Linked DNA regions of Homo sapiens: all the other regions are linked to region 4. The links are contacts of gene promoters, found by promoter capture Hi-C in blood cells and fetal thymus (Javierre and others, 2016). All regions are on one chromosome and are shown on one strand. Each heading gives the region's core, a stretch centred on a gene start or on the middle of the fragment in contact. The rest is flanking DNA. Distances are from core to core; before and after follow the strand shown.

Region 1 (3,507 bases), core at 644-3,143, 560 kb before region 4:
TAGCTTGCTCACTAAGGGCAGTTAAAAATAGGCTTCCCACCAGGGCCATCCATGGCTCATGCTTGTAATCCCAGCAATTTGGGAGGTAGAGGTAGGATTCCTTGAGTCCCAGGAGTTCAAGACCAGGCTGGGCAACACAGTGAGACTCCTATCTCTATTTGTTGAAAAACAGTAAAAAGGTTTTTTTTTTTTTTTTTTTTTGAGACGGAGTTTCACTCTTGTTGCCCAGGCTGGAGTGCAATGACATGATCTTGGCTCACTGCAACCTCCACCTCCCGGGTTCAAGCGATTCTCCTGCTTCAGCCTCCCGAGTAGCTGAGATTACAGGCATGTGCCACCAGGCCCCCGGCTAATTTTGCATTTTTAGTAGAGACGGGGTTTCTCCATGTTGGTCAGGCTGGTCTCGAACTCCCGACCTCAGGTGATCCACCCGCCTCAGCCTCCCAAAGTGCTGAGATTACAGGCGTGAGCCAACGCGCCCAGCCGAAAGTTTTTTTTTTTTTTTTTTTTTTTTAAGTAGAAACATAGTAAGCCTTCCAGAGACTTTTTTTTGGTCAAGTGGTCTGGGATCTCTCCTTAGAGAAACTGCCTAACAGGTTGCTTCAAGGATTGGAGAGCGTGTAAGCAAAACTGCTCGGCATCCACCGGGTGCTGGCAACATCTAATAACAATATTTCCCAATAATAACAGTAACTATTGTTACTAGTAGGAATAAGTCAAATTAGGAGGCGCGATTTAGGCGGAACCTGGAAGGCGGTGGGCAGGATCCAGGACATTCCAAGGCAGGCGTGGGCTTCCTGAGCCAGGAGCCAACCCTCCAGGAGCCAGGGGAGGGCCTGGGGCCGGAAGGTGCGGCGTGCGAGCGGAGGACGGAAGCTCGCCGCCAGGGTCCCCGTCCCTGCCCCAAGTCGTCACCCCCTCTTGGGGAGCGCATCCTGGCGGAGGGGCAAGTCCCACACGGGCTTTGTTATGAATGGGAAGCTGCAGCCTTCAGCCCGCGGAGGGAACAGTGCGGGTCTGGGGGAATAGCAGGGGACCCGGCAGCAACCAGCAGACCTCCCCGCAGCGCTGGCAGCCTGCGCCCGGGGGCCGCTGCCGTTCAGGCCCGCCTCCACCCTCCCCTCCCTGCCGGGGCCCCCGGCTTCCTAGGGCGGCCCCAGCATCCGAGGCGCCCTTTGCCGTCCCGTCGCCGGGTCCAAGATTCCCAGGATCCGGAGTCCCGGCCGTGCGGCCAGCTAAGCAAGGCGGGAGGGAGGAAGCTGGCCGGCCTCCGAAGTCAGCCCCGAGTTACATGTGGGAAGCGGTGGCTGTGACGCAAGTTTCCAGGGGGCCCTGGGCTCGGCTCGAAGGGAGCACACCGGAGAGGCTCCGCTCCGTGCAGCTGCAATGGTGAAAAAGCAGAAGCCCCAAGCGCGAACCCCAGGCCGCCTTCCTTGCTGCCGCTGCACGCCCGACCCAGCCGCGCCCCCTCCTCCCTGCGGGCCGGCCGAGCGCGCGGACCCTGCTCTGGGCCAGTCGCTGCTGGACTCCGGGCTGCACGGGCTGGGCTCCCTGCGCGGTGGCTGGCCTTTTTTTTTTTTTTTTTGCAACGCTTGCCAACCTGTCAGCTGATGGACCTCATCACCCATAGTGGCGCATGTAGCTCGGCCGCAGCTCGCTCCATTCACGCCGCGCCCCGCAAGCCCGCCCGCGGCCCCCGGCCCCCTGCGCCCCGCGAGAGGCCTGCAGACCCCGGTTGCAGCCGGTCCCCGGGGGCCCGCGCCCCTCTCGCCCCGGCCTCGCGCCGCCCGGGGGGCGCTGCAAATAGTCCTTTGTTTACATGCAATTCCTTACTCCGCGGAAGGAGGCCGGGGGAGTGCTGAGTTTTCACCAGCTGTTTCCCGCCTTGAAACAGACATCTGATCAGCTGCAAACACACACACACACACACACACACACACACACACACACACACACACACATACACACGCCCGGGGAGGCAGGCCGGAGAGACCTCCCTCCCGCCCCTCCCGCCCGCCTCCCTCCCCTCGCCGCCGCCGCCGCCGCCAGCATCTGGGACCGGCCGATTCTGCACCTCCGTCCGGCGCTGCCCTTTGATTCGGATTTCCATCTTGCATTCTCCGGCTGATCGCGGGACCTGGCTCGTGCAGAGGAGGGGGGCCGATCGCTATGGAGTATTTCATGGTGCCCACTCAGAAGGTGCCCTCTTTGCAACATTTCAGGAAAACAGAGAAAGAAGTGATAGGAGGGCTCTGTAGGTGTGTACTCCTCCTCCCCCCACCCCCTTCCTACCACTGCAGCCCCCGGCCAGCCCGCCCGGGCGGGCGCGCGTGTGCGCACGCATGGCCCGCGCCGCCGACCCCGCTAGCCTTTCTTAGCTGCCGGGACGGCTGCAGCCCCACACGCCGGGTCCGCGCCGCCCCGGGACCCTCCTTCCTTGGAGCATGGGGGCCCCAAGCGGCCCCGGCCACTTTTGTCCGCTGCAGGCGGGCGAGTCGCGACGTTTGTAAATTGCAAACAGACCCACGTGGTTCTGCAGCAGTCCCGGCCATGCTTGGTGCTGGTGGCCTTCCCCCCCGCGCTTCCTCTTTCCCCCTCCTGCGGCGGCTTCCTTCCTCTCCTTCCTTCCTCGGGATCTGAGGTCGTCCCCATCCAAGGGGGTCTGGGGGCCCGGGGCGCGCGTGGGGGTGTAGCTAGGGCGGCTACAATGCAGCCATGCCGCGGCTCCCGGCGCGGGGTGGGGGCGGGGAGCCGGGCACTGTGCGTGTTTGCAGAGCGGGGCTGCAGCGGGGTCGGGGGCGTGCTCGCGTGTGGGTGTTGGGGGTGGGCGGACCCCGAGGGGCCCGCGCGGCCGGTAGGGGCGCCGCGGCCCGGGGCACGTTGGCTGCCGCTCGCTCGCCCGCCCGCGCCCGGGCGCTGTTTACTAGCGAGGCCTGGACGTGACTCTGCAGCCCTCTTGGAGTAGGCGGACCTCTGCGCGCGGCCTCGCGGGAGCTGTAGTTCTCCGTGTCCTGCTGGTGCAGCATTGTGGGATTTGTAGGCGCTCCTGGGCCACGCTTTCCCTGCACAAAGCTCGGCCCCCGCGGGCACGATGGGCAAGGCAGGCCAGGTGGGCAGGCCATTTGGGGAAGGGACACCTGAGGCCGCCCCTAGCCTCGCAGGGCAGCTTCCCGCCGCACGTGGGTTTCCTCTGCAAACTTTCCCATCCAACGCCCCTCCCCCCTGCCGTAAACCGAAAGCGTCGGGTCCCCCAGCCGGGTGGGTGGCCCGAGGTCCGCAGGCCTCCCCAGAAGCCACTTTGCAAGCTTTGGTCCTAGGTTGCTCTAAACCCAAAGGGTGATGGACTCAAGGACCACACACAGCCAAACCACCCCGCACACTTCTTAAAATGCACATGCCTGGAACTCTGATCGCTGGGGCCCGGACATCTGCATTTTGAACGACCCCCTGGGCGTGGTGTGGGGGAGGTGGGCGTTCTACGGCGTGCGCAAGTTTGGGACCTGTGGC
Region 2 (3,808 bases), core at 1,142-3,641, 520 kb before region 4:
AACATGATTGGCACAACTGCCTGCATCTATGTCTGCAGCTCGATTTTACACGCTGCTCTTTGTTAGAAAGGAAAATGATTTGGGGCTGCTTTTCAGTAAAAGGAAAACCTTACTGAGGACTTCTGTATCCTCACTATCTAAGTAATTTCCTCTTAACTCCTGTATCATTCCCCACTCTGGAGTGGTAACCCTAACTGCTCTTCGGGGTTGTTTGATGATGACTCTTTCTGGCTACTTCATACTTAAAAGGGGTGTTGTGTGGGGAACAGAAGCTAAGGGCTCCTCCTGGGGTCGAGCTAAGGGTCCTCGGAAAAAAGGCATGTCCGTGCATGGTTCTGTCTGCAGCACCATTTAGAGTTTGATTACTGTCAGCCATTCTGATGGGTTGTAACACTGGTTTGCCTCCACCAGATGTTGAGATAGTTTCCAGATTCCAGAGAAACCAGGCAGAGAGAAACAAACATGCTCCAAATTTTCTTCACAGGAGTATACCTTATTCAATTATTAAAGGCCATAAATAGTTCACAATAAGTTTTCTTGACTCGTTTTGATGAGTGTTGTACCTTGGGATCCCGGATGAGGTCCCCAACATGAAGCAGCTACATTGTTTGGGGTAAATACCTGGGGTTCATTGTCTCACGCCAAGAAAATTTAGGACACAGACACACATGAGGAGTTTAGGAGCAGAGGTTTAACAGGCAAAAGAAAGAGAAAGAAAAACAGCTCCTTAGTGAGAGAGAGGGGACTTCCAAGAGGAAAAGTCCCAAGACCTTGTCTTTGAAAAAGCAGTAGCTCATGCCTGTAATCGTAGTGCTTTGGGAGGTCGAGACAGGAAGATTGCTTGAGCCCAGGAGTTGGAGACCAGCCCGAGTGACATAGGAAGACCATGTTTGCAAAAAACAAAAAAATTAGCCAGATGTGGTGCACACCTGTATTCCCAGCCCCTCGGAGGTTGAGGTGAGAGGGTGGCTTGAGCCCAGGAGTTCAAGGCTGCAGTGAGCTATGATCGTGTCACTACTCCAGCCAGGGTGACAGAGACCCTGTCTCTTAAAAAAGATTAAAAAAAAAAAAAAAGTCAAGTGCCTACCAGATGCCTAATTCTTTTTTTTTTTTTTTTTTTTTTTGAGACAGAGTCTCGCTCTGTTGCCCAGGCTAGAGTCAGTGGTGCAATCTTGGCTCATGGCAACCTTCGCCTCCTGGGATCAAGTGATTCTCCTGCCTCAGCCTCCTGAGGAGCTGGGATTATAGGCACCCGCCACCACACCCAGTAATTTTTGTATTTTTAGTGGAGATGGGGTTTCACCATGTTGGCCAGGCTGGTCTCAATCTCCTGACCTCAGGTGATCCACCCGCCTCGGCCTCCCAAAGTGCTGGGATTACAGGTGTGAGCCACTGTGCCTGGCCCTGATTTAGTTCCTTTCCTCCAAGGCTGGCTTCTACCTCTTCCCCACACAGTGACACTGTACCCCGACCAGACAAGCAAGTGTCTGCTTTCCCTTGGCTTCTTACAACTGGCTCTCTGGGCCATCTACAAAAAATTTTAAAAAATTAGTACAGCATGGTGGCACTACTGTCCTAGCTACTTGGGAGGCTGAGTTGGGAGGATTGATTGAGCCTGGGAGGTCGAGTGCAGTGAGTGATGATTGTGCCACTGCAGTCCAGCCTGGGTGACAGAGCGAGATCCTCTATCAAAAACAAATAAACAAAAAAGCACTTTGCAGAGGTGACTGAATGTTCTGGAACCCCTGGGCCATTGGAAATGGATATCTGTTGCTCCATCCTCCAGTTTACACCGTAGCCTCAGCTTGTGTCTCAGTGTGCCCCTCTCCCTCTGGTCTGTGCTCTCTCTCTTCCAGAGGCTGGGAAGGTTGTTCCAGGGCTGCAGCCTTGGACCTCAGAGGTCACATGTTGCGGGTTTGCCGTAGCTGACCACTCTCTAGCATGTGGATCAGTGGCTGTTAAATAGGATTTCTTTTGCGTGGCCTTACAACTTCCTCCTTCCAGTGCAGGCGTGTCAAGGTCCTTAACCTGCCGAGACTTCAGGTCAAGTTATTGCAAGTTCTGGGAAGACTCAGCTTCCCAGCTCCACCGCCTGAGCCCAAGGGATGCTCCATTTTATGCCTGTCACCCACGCCCTGTGACCCATGTCATGTGATCCCAGGGCTGCAGGGGTTCGGGGGAAGAGAATCCAGCCACGGCCCTGCCTTCTGGGGCCTGGCAGCTGGGACAGCAGTGGCGCAGCCTGAGCCTCTGCACAGCCTTCTGGGGTCCGGGCTTCTTCCCCATCACACCCTCCTAGTTGCCCTGGTGACTGTGTGACCCCTCTCCCCCCTCCACCGCCTGCTGCCACGGCCGGCCGTATAAATAGAGGCGAGGAGCAGCTGGGCTCTCTTGGCAGTCACCATGAGGGCGCTGGTCCTGCTCGGCTGCCTCCTGGCCTCGCTCCTGTTCTCAGGACAAGCAGGTAGGGCCCCTCCCAGCATGACCCAGCCCAGACTGGTCCCCCACGCTTCCTCCAAGGTTTTCTGTCTACCATGGGTTGGGTAGGGGGTCGGGGCTGATGGCAAACCCTGGCTCTTGGCTGGTGTCTTCTTACCCTTCTCTTTTCCCCGGGCCTGGGGCCTCAGAGAAAGAGCTGGGTGCTGGAGAATAGCAGCACAGTTGCGGGGCCCTCAGGAAGGCCAGAGGAAGTGGGAACGGCAAACAGAGCTGAGCTGTGAGCCAGGGTCAGAGAGGAGTCTGGCCAGTAGATGTGGGAAAGAGGGCCCTCAAAGTCGAGACGGGGGAGCCTCTGAGACGGACAAAATAGCACAGTCTGGGAGCTGGAGGTCGTTGAGGTGACCCTCCCACCTGGTGGGATATAAGGCGGAGGCCCCACTCGGGTAAGAGAACTGGGTTTGCGTGGACAGAAGGGGATACAGTGGGCAAAGGTGGGGACCGTTTTGGGAGCAGTGAGATAGAATTGGAATTGGTTTGGGATAAGATCGGAAATAGAGTTGGCGGTTGGGCTGGAAACAGCATTGGATGCAATTCAGAAGAGGAACGGGGCCCGTTCTGGAGTAGAGCCTCTGCTCGGGGTGGGGGCTTCCATCAGAAAAGGGGCTTGGCTCTGTGTGCTGAGGCTTCCCTTTGACATCTCAGCACTTTGGGTAGCAGAGGTGGTGGCTTGGGTTGCAGCATGGGGGTTATCTATAGGCTATGGAGGAGATGCCAGATTGTTTTGCCACCTCTCTTGTTCCTAAGGTTCCTGAGGCCAGGTTCCCCGAGGGAATGCTTTTAGGGAGGTGCTCCGGGGATCCCCCTAGGATCCGGACTGCCCACCGAGTCTTTTCATGACTCGGCAGTCTTCCCCCAAGCTGGGCTCTGAGCCTAGGTCCGTACCTGGGACTGGAGAGGCCCAGAGTCCAGCCTCTCAGGTCTTTGAGGTTGAATAGGGGGTTGCAGGGGCACAGTCCCTGCAGGGAGAGCAGGCAGTGGGTGGGAACAAAAGCTATTTCTCGGGGACTCAAGATGTAAGGTGGGGGGCTCCAGCCACTGCATGTGCTGCTGGGCCCTGCCCTTGTCTGTCCTTGAGTTAATTTGGGCTCTGCAGGGCTGCAGCGGCTTGAGTGCTGAGTATTCCAGGCGGCTGTCAGGCGGCTAAGTATGGAAACAGCCGCGTAATTGGATCCGGAGCCCCAAGCCGCTGCCACCCTCTCCCTTCGTGGCCGCTCCTGTGCTGCCCCCCAGCCCCAGCTGCTGGGCTGCTACACACTGGGCCCCAGGAATTTTTGGCCTTTTAGGGACATCCTTTATCTTTCCTCCCACC
Region 3 (3,401 bases), core at 120-2,619, 650 kb before region 4:
CTGTTTACAGAAGCTCCAGGCCAACTCCCCTGGGAGAAGAGAGTAAACTCAGGGGACTGCTCCCCATCCCCCACCCGCCTGCCCCAGCTCTGTTGGGTTTTTGTCAATAGCTGGGCCCATCCTGGACTTTGCTGCCCCCTGGACTGGCCCTAATGGACCCTGCTTGGAAGGTCCCAGCCCGGCCACCCCTCTATGCCCTCAACACCCAAAGTACAGTCTAGTGTGAAGGGACCTTGGAGATTTTATCCAATCCCCAGCCCTGGAGGCTCTCAGCCTGGGGAAGGGGGCTCTAGGTCCCGCTGCCTCTCTCCAGAGCCTCACCTGTCCTTGGTGCAAAAGGCAGGCATGGGGACACCTAGACCCCCAGGACCTCTTCCTTCCACCCTGCACACTCCACCCCTGGGCCACAGCAGGGGAGGCGGTCAGTGACCCTGGTGTGGCAATCGTTAACGAATGGGGGAGAGGCAGAATGGTTGGCACCAATCGGCTGGCCTGCCAGTGACCACAGGGGACCTCAGCAGTCCTCAGGCCCCAGCACTGCCAGCCCAGGGACACAAAGGACTAGGCTGGCTCCAGGCCACTGGGTTTGCAGCCCAAGCAAAGCCCCTTCCCTGGCAGAGGCAGAGACCCGGCACCCTGCCTGATACCCGAAGCTCTAAGGGCCCTGGCCAGTACAGGTCCATCCCCCACCTGGAGGGATGGGCATCGGACGCCCACCAGCCACTCCCCGCCCCTCCCTAGGGCTGCATATCTGTAGCCCCCAGCTGTGCTTTGAGTGACAAGGGTCCAGAGGACCCCGGGCAGCCCTTCTGCACAGCAGCACCTACTGCCGGACCCCAGGAGGGAAAAGTGACCCAAGCCTGTGGCTTGGCTATCCCCCTCAAAGGGGTTTGATTCATAAAACTGGTCATGCCGGAGGCCCAGCCGTGGGAGGAGGAAGCATGGGACGGGGTGTTTATTTTGTCTGCTTGCAGCCTCGCGGGCTCACCGCACACTCAGGCGCGCACCCTGGCCGGCCGCGGGGCTGTCGGCGCCCCAGGACGGCGGGGGAGGGAGCGTACAGGGCCTGCCCGCCGGGCGGCCCAGGTGACCGTGTGGGGCTGGGGCCGCGGTCCCGCCCGAGAGTGCGTGTGTGCGCGCGGCGGCGGTCCCCGCGCGTGTGCACAGCCTGGCCGTGGCGCCCCCTTCCCCGCCCGCAGCCCCCCAGCCCCACAGAAACTCACCGGGAGGCGGCGGCGGCGCAGGGAGCCGGGCGGGGCAGGCCGCGGCCTCAGTCTTTCCTGGCGGGTCGGGCCCGAGGGGGTCCTGGGTCCCGAAGCAACTGCGTTCGAGTCCGCGTCCACCCGCCCCGGGCTCGGGCTCCGGAGTCGGCTCGCTGGAGGCAGGTCGCGCCTTAAGAGTCCCGGGGGGCGGGCCCGCCGCGGCAGGGGCGGGGCCTCTCCCCATTGGCCGGGGCGGAGCCGCGTGGAGACACGCCCCTTCCCCACCGAGGGGCTCGTGGGCCGGGTTGCCCTGGCCCTCACCCTGCGGCCACCTGACCTGCGCGGGGAGACCTTGCCCGTCGTGGGTTTGCCGGATGACACTGGGCAGGTTTCTGCTTTTTGTGTAAAAAGCGAGAGACTATTTAGGAATCCTAAGCGTCACAGCCCAGATGCCTATGAGGCACCAGGCAGGTGACAAATGCCAGAAGTCCACCCCAGGGCCTCTGCGGCCCTGGAGAGGCAGGATGGCGGGAGTGGGGCTGGTAAGGGCTGAGTCCTCATGACCAGCCCGGGCCAGCTAGAGCTTTGGATTTTTGAAGAGAAACTGGAAATCCAGATTTTTAGGTGAAATCTCTCAATGTGTTATTGTTGGTAGCTAATCCCAATTTCAAAAAACTCCTGGCAGCCCACACAAAGCCCTTTCAAGAGCCTCCTAAGTATAAACTCCAATGCCAAATCTGAGCTCAGGGTCCTCTTAGCCACGACAGCCTTAAGAGTTGTGAGCAGCCCTGGACTCTCTTCCCCACCATATTATGAGATGAAGGGGCTGTGTCAGGGAGGGCAGTGGTGGTCTGCCCACGGCCCCACAGTTACTGGCAGCTTCAAGCCTGAGCTGTGGAGGCATAGGGGTGGTCACCGTCGGTGGGTGGGGCCTGGGCTGCAGTTGACAGTGGCCCTTGATTGGGCAGGAGGGGCGGGTGCCAGGGGCCGGACTAGTCCAGAAAAATCCCCTGCCTTGGAGGATTCCAGGAAAACACTCTGCCCTCCTCCCCCTCCGCGTTTGTGGTCAGTCATGCCTCAGAGCCTTTGGGGGCCCAGCTCAGCTCCTGACTTCCGGAGAGCCTTGGGACACCCACACCCCCTCCAGCCCGGCCTGTAGCCAAGGCCCTTGGCTGGGCTAGCTCTAGTCTTTGGGGGGCCTGAAGGCTTATCCCTGGGAGGCTGGGCCACACCAGCTGGAGGGTTTCCTAGTCTCTGGAGGACTCAGTTATCTCCAGAAGGCAGGATGGCCTCTGTGTCTAGCCGTCAAGGGCTAAGCAGGGCCTGGCTGGGACAGTCACCTTCTGGACCTCCCGTCCACAGGGCCCTCTCCCCACAGGGCCCCTTTCCAGGGCTGGCAGGGCTCCACAACCCATACGTTTCTCGGTCTACATGGATTAGGGCATGGCTTGCGGACCTCTGTTCCTGGGTTGGGGCTGGCCTTTGGGTGCATTTAGTGCAGGCTTTATGGGAGTTTTTACAACTTTGAAGGCACTGCTAACATTGAAAAATCAGGTGGTTTCATATTAAAATGGGGCTTCCCAGCTTGCATTGAACAGGAACTCTCAGCTGGGGCTGAGTGGCGGTTGCTCCCTCTGCCAAAATGTGGGCTCATGGGTCACCCCAGTCCCCACCACTCCCTGCTGCCTCCTGCCAAGCTGTCCACTCACTTGAGTTTCCTGCCCGGCCCCAGAACCATCTGAGTTTCCAATCAGTGCTGTGCAGCCTCTTGTCGGACTGTTTCCCTGCCTCTTCCCTTGGCCCTGTGTCCTCTGAAGCCCTCAGAAGCATCCACAGATGCCCAGGGTCAGGGGTAAAGAGGGCTCCAAGAGCCTCCAGCCTGGCTTTCCTCAAGGAACAGGACCTCCTGATGTCCTTGAAGCTTCTCACCTCTGTGGCAGGTTCTTGTAGACGGAGAGACCCCATCTGCCTGGTGTTCACCCCCTGCCCCAATCCTGTGCCCTGGCCTTACACAGGTCCCCACTTACCCAGAGGCTCAAGGGAAGCTTTTAGGAGACCCCTCTCAGTTTATCCAACATTGCCTTGTATGGTTTCAAGGTGCCACCCGCCTTTAGAACCTGGTTACCAGCAGTCTGCACACAGCGGGGGAGCTAGGGGCTGTGGGGGTGGAGGGGGGTCAAAGGATCCTAACTAACTCTC
Region 4 (3,278 bases), core at 431-2,930:
CTAGGAATTTTTAACGGTCTGAATAAACAATATTTGCGAAAACATTTGCCATCTATTACCTGTAAGGGTGGTCATCTATGAGACTTCCTCTACATAATAAGAACCTTGGTCTTCACAACCTGTTTTTTGTTTGTTTGTTTGTTTGTTTGTTTTGAGACAGGGTGTGGCTCTCTTGCCCAAGCTGGAGTTCAATGGCACGAACTTGGCTCACTGCAACCTCTCCCTCCTGGGCTTAAGCAATCCACCCACCTCAGCCTCCCTTGTAGCTGGGATTACAGGCCTCCGCCACCACATCCGGTACAGGTATGTTTGGTACAGACAGGGTCTCACCATGTTGCCCACGCTGCTCTCCAACTCCTGACCTCAAGCAATTCGCCCACCTCGGCATCCCAAAGTGTTGGGATTACAGGTGTGAGTCACCGTGCTCGTGCCCACAACCCCTTATCTTCACCCAGACACTCTTTTTATTGATTCCAGGTCTGTATAACTCAACTCTTTTTTTTCTTTTTTTTGTTTTCTTTTTTTTTTTTTTTTGAGACGGAGTCACAGCTCTGTCGCCCAGGCTGCAGTGCAAGTGGCACGATCTCGGCTCACTGCAACCGCAGCCTCCCGGGTTCACGCTATTCTTCCGCCTCAGCCTCCCCAGGAGCTGGGACTACAGGCACGTGCCACCTTGCCCAGCTAATTTTTTGTATCTTAGTAGAGATGATGGGTTTTCACCATGTTGGCCAGGCTGGTCTCGGACTCCTGACCGCAGGCAGTCCGCCCACCTCAGCCTCCCAAAGTGCTAGGATTACAGGCGTGAGCCACCGCGCCCAACCAGAACTCAACTCTTTTAACCAATTGCCAATCAGAAAGTATCTGAATCCACCTATGACCTCTAAGTATTTCACCCTTTGAGTTGTCCTGCCTTTCCACACGGAACCAACCTATGTCTTACATGCATTGACTGATGTCTTATGTCTCTCTAAAATGTATAAAACCAAGCAAGCTGTAACCCAAGCACCTTGGGCCAAGTTCTCAGGACCTTTTGAGACTGTGCCTCCCTCCATGCACACTCATATTTGGCTCAGAATAACCTTCTAAATACTTTAGAGTTTGACTCTTCTCGACAAGGACAAGAGAAGTGGAATAAACGAATAACCGCAGTTTTCCTGGTGGTATTGGTCACTGGGTTCAGGTTTTGGAGTAGTAGCCAGTCAAGCCTGGAATCCCCTTCCTCATTCGCTTTAGCTTTTTGTCCAGTCTTGGTTTGCAAGAGACTTGCAGCGGCCTAGACGGATGGCCGGGATTCACAAAGGTCGCAGACACGGGAACTGCTTCTTCCCCAGCGTCGCCTCCACACCCTCGCGTGGATACTGACATCCGCCCCATTCCAGGAATGCGCACAGCTAGGCGCAGCCGGCCAGCGTGGGCCGGGGGCGGCGGGGCCACCTCCCCCACCTCCGCGCGCAAGGCCCGTCGCCCTTGACAACGCGATCCAAGGTCACGGAGGTCCCACCCCCAGGCCCGACCGTCCACGAGACGGGTAGTACCCCGCCACGCGCCCGAGCAGGCAGCTGCCCGGACAGCCCGGCGCCCGCCGTGACGTCACCGCCCCGCGCCCGAGGAAGCCCCGCCCCGCGCAGCCCCGTCCCGCCCCTTCCCATCGTGTACGGTCCCGCGTGGCTGCGCGCGGCGCTCTGGGAGTACGACATGGCGCGCGAGCTGCGGGCGCTGCTGCTGTGGGGCCGCCGCCTGCGGCCTTTGCTGCGGGCGCCGGCGCTGGCGGCCGTGCCGGGAGGTGAGGGCGTCCTGGCTGGACGGGCAGCGGGCGGGCCGGGCCACGGAGACGGCAGGGACGTCCCTGTGCTCCGGGGAGCGAGGCGCCGGCACCTGCTTCACAGGCGTGGGAGGTCCGGCGAGGCCAAGCGCGGCAGACGCGTTTACTTTCGCTCCGCTCCTCGCCAGCTCCAGCTTGGCTGCCTTTTCCTCGGCTGGACTCCCCTCGCCACCCGCCCATGGGAGCCCTGAAGGAGGCTGGGTCTTGGGGGGTCGCGGGGTCGGGCGGAGCGGCTGCGGGGTCGTCCCTCCTGGAGCTTCGGTCCAGTCAGGTAGCGCACGTGCAGGTGGAGCCGCTGCGGAGCGCGGAGTCTTTGCGGGTGCATGTTGCGGGGAATGGACTCACTCGGGGTGATCGTGCTAGTTCCATGGATCGTGCTTTACCCCTCCCCGCCTCCCAGTAGCGCACTGAGGGTTCATTTGTTAATTCGTTCATTGGACGCACATGTGAGCGCCCGCTCAGTGCCCGGCGCCGTGCAGGTTCTGGGGACGCCACAGTGAACAAAACCTATAGCAGTCATCCGGGTCCCCAGAGCAGGTGGACTCGATGTCGTTGACGCAGCTGTGTCCTCGGGGCCTGGAATTGATGGATGCGCCAATAAATGTTTGTAAAACAGAGAGAACGACCCTAACCTCTGCTTTCCCAGTCCCCACTCGGAGGTAACAACAGTGAAAGTTTCGGCATTGCTTCGGGGCTGTACACAGTGTTATACGTGTAAATATAAATGTCTGCGTATAAGTATTTTTTATTCTAAAAAGCCTAAACCATGTATGCATTGTGCTACGTTGTACTTCAGAAAATTTTAACGCTCCCAGCATTCTTTCCACATCTTTTCATGTCAGTGTATACAGGTCCATGTGCCTTCCAGTGACCACACAGTATTCTGTATGATGGACGTGTCATTTGTTTAAACATTGTCCTATTAGTGGACGCAATAAAGGTTATTTCAGGTTTTACTTTTTATTACAATGCTGCATAGAATGGGTGAGTACTTAAATATTTGTTCACGTGCGGTATTTCTTTAGCCTTACATAATTAGAATTTTAGAATTGATATTTCAGAGCCTATGCATTTTTGAAATGTTAGCAGATACTGCCAAATTGTCCAAAAAGGCCTTATCAATTTATATCCCCTTTAGCAGGCATCAAGACTGCCTATTCCAAAGGTATTTTCTTCAACGCTGAATCTTATGTCTTTTCAAAACCAGTGGTCTATAAAAGATACCTTGTGGCCGGGCGCGGTGGCTCACGCCTGTAATCCTAGCACTTTGGGAGCCTGAGGTGGGCAGATCAGGAGTTCAAGACCAGCCTGGCCAACATGGTGAAACCCTGTCTCTACTAAAAATACAAAAATTAGCTGGGTGTGGTGGCGCGCGCCTGTAATCCCAGCTTCTTGGGAGGCTGAGGCAGGAGAATCGCTTGAACCCAGGAGGCAGAGATTGCAGTGAGCTGAGATT
Region 5 (3,464 bases), core at 423-2,922, 600 kb before region 4:
GTGGGCAGTGAAATGGGCCAGGCTGGAGCTTGGCAAAGGGTGTCCTGGGAGGGGCCTCCCAGGTGCAGCCCCTCCCCCTGTGCAGGCCAGGCCAGCTAGGAGGCCCAGCCTGGGCTCTGGGGAGAAGGAGAAGCAGAGGGGGAGGTCCGAGGTCACCCGGGATGGGTGTGTGGGCTGGGCCTGGACAGCTGTGGCACTGTGGCACCAGAATGGGGCTTGGGGAGGGGTGACCCAAGGGGCCAGTTTCCCCTCCCCTGAGCCCGGGGGCTGGAAGGCCCTCCGAAGCGCAGTGTCTCTGGGCTTCCTCCCCAGCCGCAGGCTGGCCCCACCTTCCCTCCAGGATGCCAGGACACGCAGGATGGCGGCCTACTACCCAGGGTGCCAGCCTCCAAGAACCATGGCCCAGGCCCTTTCCATGGCCCAGACCAAGCCCAGGCCTTGGCCAGGTCCCCAGCCGGCCTGGCTGCCCCCTCAGTGTCAAGCGTTCCCTCCAGAGCCAAGATCCTGGGCTGTGATGGCTGGGGGCCCAGGGCCCCTCCCAGCATCCCTTCCAGCTTCCCAGGCCCCAGGGCAGGGCTGGGCAACTCCTTGAAACCATTGCTTCCCGGCCACCCTCTGGCCAGGCTGGGCGGGCCCTCCTGGACAGGCAGACAGGCTGCACGCTGCCCTGCTGTGGCCCGAGTACCCTGCTGGGCAGGGCAGCATGCCAAGGCCTCCAGGTGCCAGCCTGGATTCCAGCCCCATCCCAGGGGGCCAGCGGGGAAGCTGTGCGTGCTTCTCCTCCCTCGGGATGCACCTGCCTCGCCCCCTCCTCCACCCGCTCCAGACCCGCCCTCCGGCGAGTATGGACCCCTTGCCATCTCCTCCCTGCCAGGCCGGTCGCCTGCGTCCACCCGGACCGCAGGGGAGTAACAAGTGCCTGACTTGTCCCAAACTCCCAGTCCTGACCCCCCAGGGACGCCCCTTCCCGAGGTCCAAGGAAGGACCCGGGCTTGCGAGGGGCAGCAGGAGGGAGACTCTCCCGGCCAAGGGAGGAGGCACCTTCCAAAGCCCTTCCTAGCAGCAGCCCCGGCGCGGCCGAGAGGAGGGGCGGCTGCCCCGGACAACTTCATGCCCAGGCTCCGGGTACCCCCCTCTCACCTCGCCGCACGCCCCCCACCGCGGCCGCCCAACTTCCCAGCTGAAGTTTGCGCCCGCCCCGGGCCCGGGCGCTGCTCGGCCCGGCCTCCAGACGGAGGGAAGGAAGGAGGGAGAAGAAAGACCGAGAGCTCGAGGGACCCGGCCGGGGAGCCGGCGAGGGAGGGAGCGCGCGAGCCAGCGAGCGAGCGAACGCGGGGGCCTCGGCGAGGGCTCACAATGGCCCGGGGCGCGGACGCGAGCGGGGGAGGAGACCCTCGGGCCCCGCAGCCCCGGCGCGACAGGCGGGCCCCCCCCCCCCCGCCCCGGCCCGGTCCCCACGGCGCGACGCCCGGGGGGCTTCCTACCTCAGCGGCGGGGGCGGTCGGGATCCGGGCTGCGGGCTCCGGCGGTCGGGGGGCGCGGGGAGCCGAGCGGGGGAGGGGCCGGGACGGGCGGGGGCCGGGGCGCGAGGCCTCACGGGGCGCGGGCTCCCCTGGCACGGCCGCCCGGCGCCCGGCCGCTCCGCCACATCTGCAGCTCGGGCAGGGAAGGTGGCCGCGGCGGCCGGGCCGTGCGGGGATGTCTTAGAGGGAGGGCGGGCGGGCGGGAGGAGGGAGGAGGGAGGCGGCGGGAGGAGGGCCCGCCGGCCGCGGAGGAGGGCGAGGAGGAGGGGCGCGGGGGGCGGCCTCCACCCCTCCCCTCGCTCGCTCGCTCCCTCCCTCCCAGCAAAACCCCTCTCACCGCTGCGGCCCCAGGCCCGGGGCGCCAGCTGCCAGGCGGGGCGTGCGCGTCGGGGGAGGGGGCGGCGGGAGCCGGCGCTGGGCCGAGGGAGGGGGAAGGGAGGGCGGCGCGGCCGCGGGGAGCGGGCACCGGGAGGGAGGGGTGAGGGAGGGAAGTGGGGCGCCGAGCCGCGCGCGTCCTCCTCGGCCCCATCCTCACGCCACCCCCCCCCCGCGGCCCCGCCCCCGGCCCGAGGGCAGCGCTAGGACACGGCCGGGAGGTGGCCTGGGGGGGCGGGGGAGCCCGAGACGTCCCGCCCTCGGGGAAGCCCGAGGAGGGGGCCGGGCGCGCGGGCCCAGAGGAAAAGCCCCGCAGACCGGGAAGATGGAGGAGGTCGCGGCGGCGGAGCGGGCGGGGACCCCTCGCCTCCTCCCGCGGGGTCACCTTGGCCAGGCCCCCCTGCGGCCCCGGGCGGCGGGGAAGGCGGCAGGAATGCCTCTCTGCGGGCCCTGATTTCTCCGCCCAGCCCAGTTCCAGGAACGCGCAGGCAGCGCCCGGCGGGCAGAGGTCCCGGATCCCGATGCCGGGCGGCGCAAACCAGTTTTCGGGGCCCGGCGCAACCCCTCACGCTGGTGAGACGGCGGGCGACTCCCTGCCGTGCCCTCGGTCTCAGTTTCCCTCACGGTAGAATAACGACGAGGCCCGATGCCGAGCAATCCGAGCTTCCGCTTGGTTCCTAGCTTGGTCCCAGCATTTGGGACCACCTGCGTCCACTAGCCCGAGCGCCGCGGGAGGTCTAGATCCCTCCTGGACATCAGCACCCTGCGCGGCGCCCGCGGCCAGGGCAGCGAGTGCAGTGAGCGGATACACGCGAGGGAGAAGCCCCGCACCCGGCCCAGCTGTTTTCTGCCTCGTGTTGAACCACAGACTCGCGTTCTTGAGTGTGTTTTGTTTGGGCTAATCCCGTGCCCCCCGCCCTGTTATCTTCTTGCTGCTCTGCTGTATGCTGGCAAATTGTAGTTCAAAAAAACAGCCCTCCTGCTGTTGGACACCCCCTCTTCCCAGCGCAGTTGGCCTTGAGGAGCCTAGGAGACGAAAAAGGCATCCCAGAATCAGCATCCCCTAGAGGTGAGGCATCTGACGCTGGTTTTAAGTCCGTCTTCATTCGTGCATTTGATGCTGCGGTCCCCGCCAGAGCCCGAAGCACGTGGCTCTTGATCACAAGGCATCCATGGCAGGCACAAGGCTTGGCACATAGTAGGTGCTCCTGGGCTGGTGCCCAGATGGACACATAGCAGGTGCTCATGGGTTATGTGGACACACAATCGATGCTCATTGCATTTTAAGAGAATGCACACATAGTAGGTGCTCATGGGCTGGTGCCCAGATGGACACATAGCAGGTGCTCATGGGTTATGTGGACACACAATCGATGCTCATTGCATTTTAAGAGAATGCACACATAGTAGGTGCTCAGGACGTTGTGGGTGAATGCACACATAGTAGGTGTGGACTCGTAATGGATGCTCATGTTTTGGTCTAATGAACACATATTAGGTGCTCATGACCTGTTGTGGAAATGGGCACATAGTAGGTGCGCAGGAGCTGTAGGTTGATACCTGGAA

Evidence for each region. The method cuts DNA at HindIII sites, captures the fragments that hold promoters and counts their contacts. A CHiCAGO score of 5 or more calls a contact.
Region 1: the fragment with the promoter of TFAP4 here is called in contact with the fragment with the promoter of TRAP1 in region 4 in 5 of 17 cell types (naive CD8 T cells, total B cells, M2 macrophages and 2 more); the score reaches 6.5 in naive CD8 T cells.
Region 2: the fragment with the promoter of SRL here is called in contact with the fragment with the promoter of TRAP1 in region 4 in 2 of 17 cell types (neutrophils and naive CD8 T cells); the score reaches 6.5 in neutrophils.
Region 3: a contact is called between the fragment with the promoter of VASN here and the fragment with the promoter of TRAP1 in region 4, in 2 of 17 cell types (naive B cells and neutrophils). The highest score is 6.9, in naive B cells.
Region 5: a contact is called between the fragment with the promoter of GLIS2 here and the fragment with the promoter of TRAP1 in region 4, in 1 of 17 cell types (M0 macrophages). The highest score is 6.0, in M0 macrophages.

Annotation. Positions count from the first base shown.
Region 1 is chr16:4,271,409-4,274,915 of GRCh38, reverse strand. It overlaps TFAP4 (transcription factor AP-4), which reads left to right and starts at 1,893. Exons shown (of 7, transcript NM_003223.3): 1 at 1,893-2,258. The coding sequence starts at 2,170. RefSeq lists silencers at 949-1,598, 2,319-2,368, 2,729-2,888 and enhancers at 747-1,722, 2,019-2,068, 2,969-3,158, 2,700-3,507. The HindIII fragment of the contact is 8,835 bases long and covers 1-3,307 here.
Region 2 is chr16:4,240,663-4,244,470 of GRCh38, reverse strand. SRL (sarcalumenin) reads left to right here and starts at 2,391. Exons shown (of 6, transcript NM_001098814.2): 1 at 2,391-2,464. The coding sequence starts at 2,404. The HindIII fragment of the contact is 10,843 bases long and covers 1-3,808 here.
Region 3 is chr16:4,369,816-4,373,216 of GRCh38, reverse strand. It overlaps VASN (vasorin), which reads right to left and starts at 1,369. Exons shown (of 2, transcript NM_138440.3): 1 at 1,224-1,369. All of the region lies in intron 9 of CORO7-PAM16 (CORO7-PAM16 readthrough), which reads left to right. The region is part of intron 9 of CORO7 (coronin 7); the gene reads left to right. RefSeq lists an enhancer at 1,162-1,987. The HindIII fragment of the contact is 4,747 bases long and covers 1-3,125 here.
Region 4 is chr16:3,715,926-3,719,203 of GRCh38, reverse strand. It overlaps TRAP1 (TNF receptor associated protein 1), which reads left to right and starts at 1,680. Exons shown (of 18, transcript NM_016292.3): 1 at 1,680-1,783. The coding sequence starts at 1,696. RefSeq lists silencers at 1,330-1,939, 1,960-2,079. The HindIII fragment of the contact is 13,336 bases long and covers 1-3,278 here.
Region 5 is chr16:4,314,275-4,317,738 of GRCh38, reverse strand. GLIS2 (GLIS family zinc finger 2) reads right to left here and starts at 1,672. Exons shown (of 7, transcript NM_032575.3): 1 at 1,485-1,672. RefSeq lists enhancers at 1-410, 2,532-3,044, 3,045-3,464 and a silencer at 2,837-3,131. The HindIII fragment of the contact is 6,668 bases long and covers 1-3,464 here.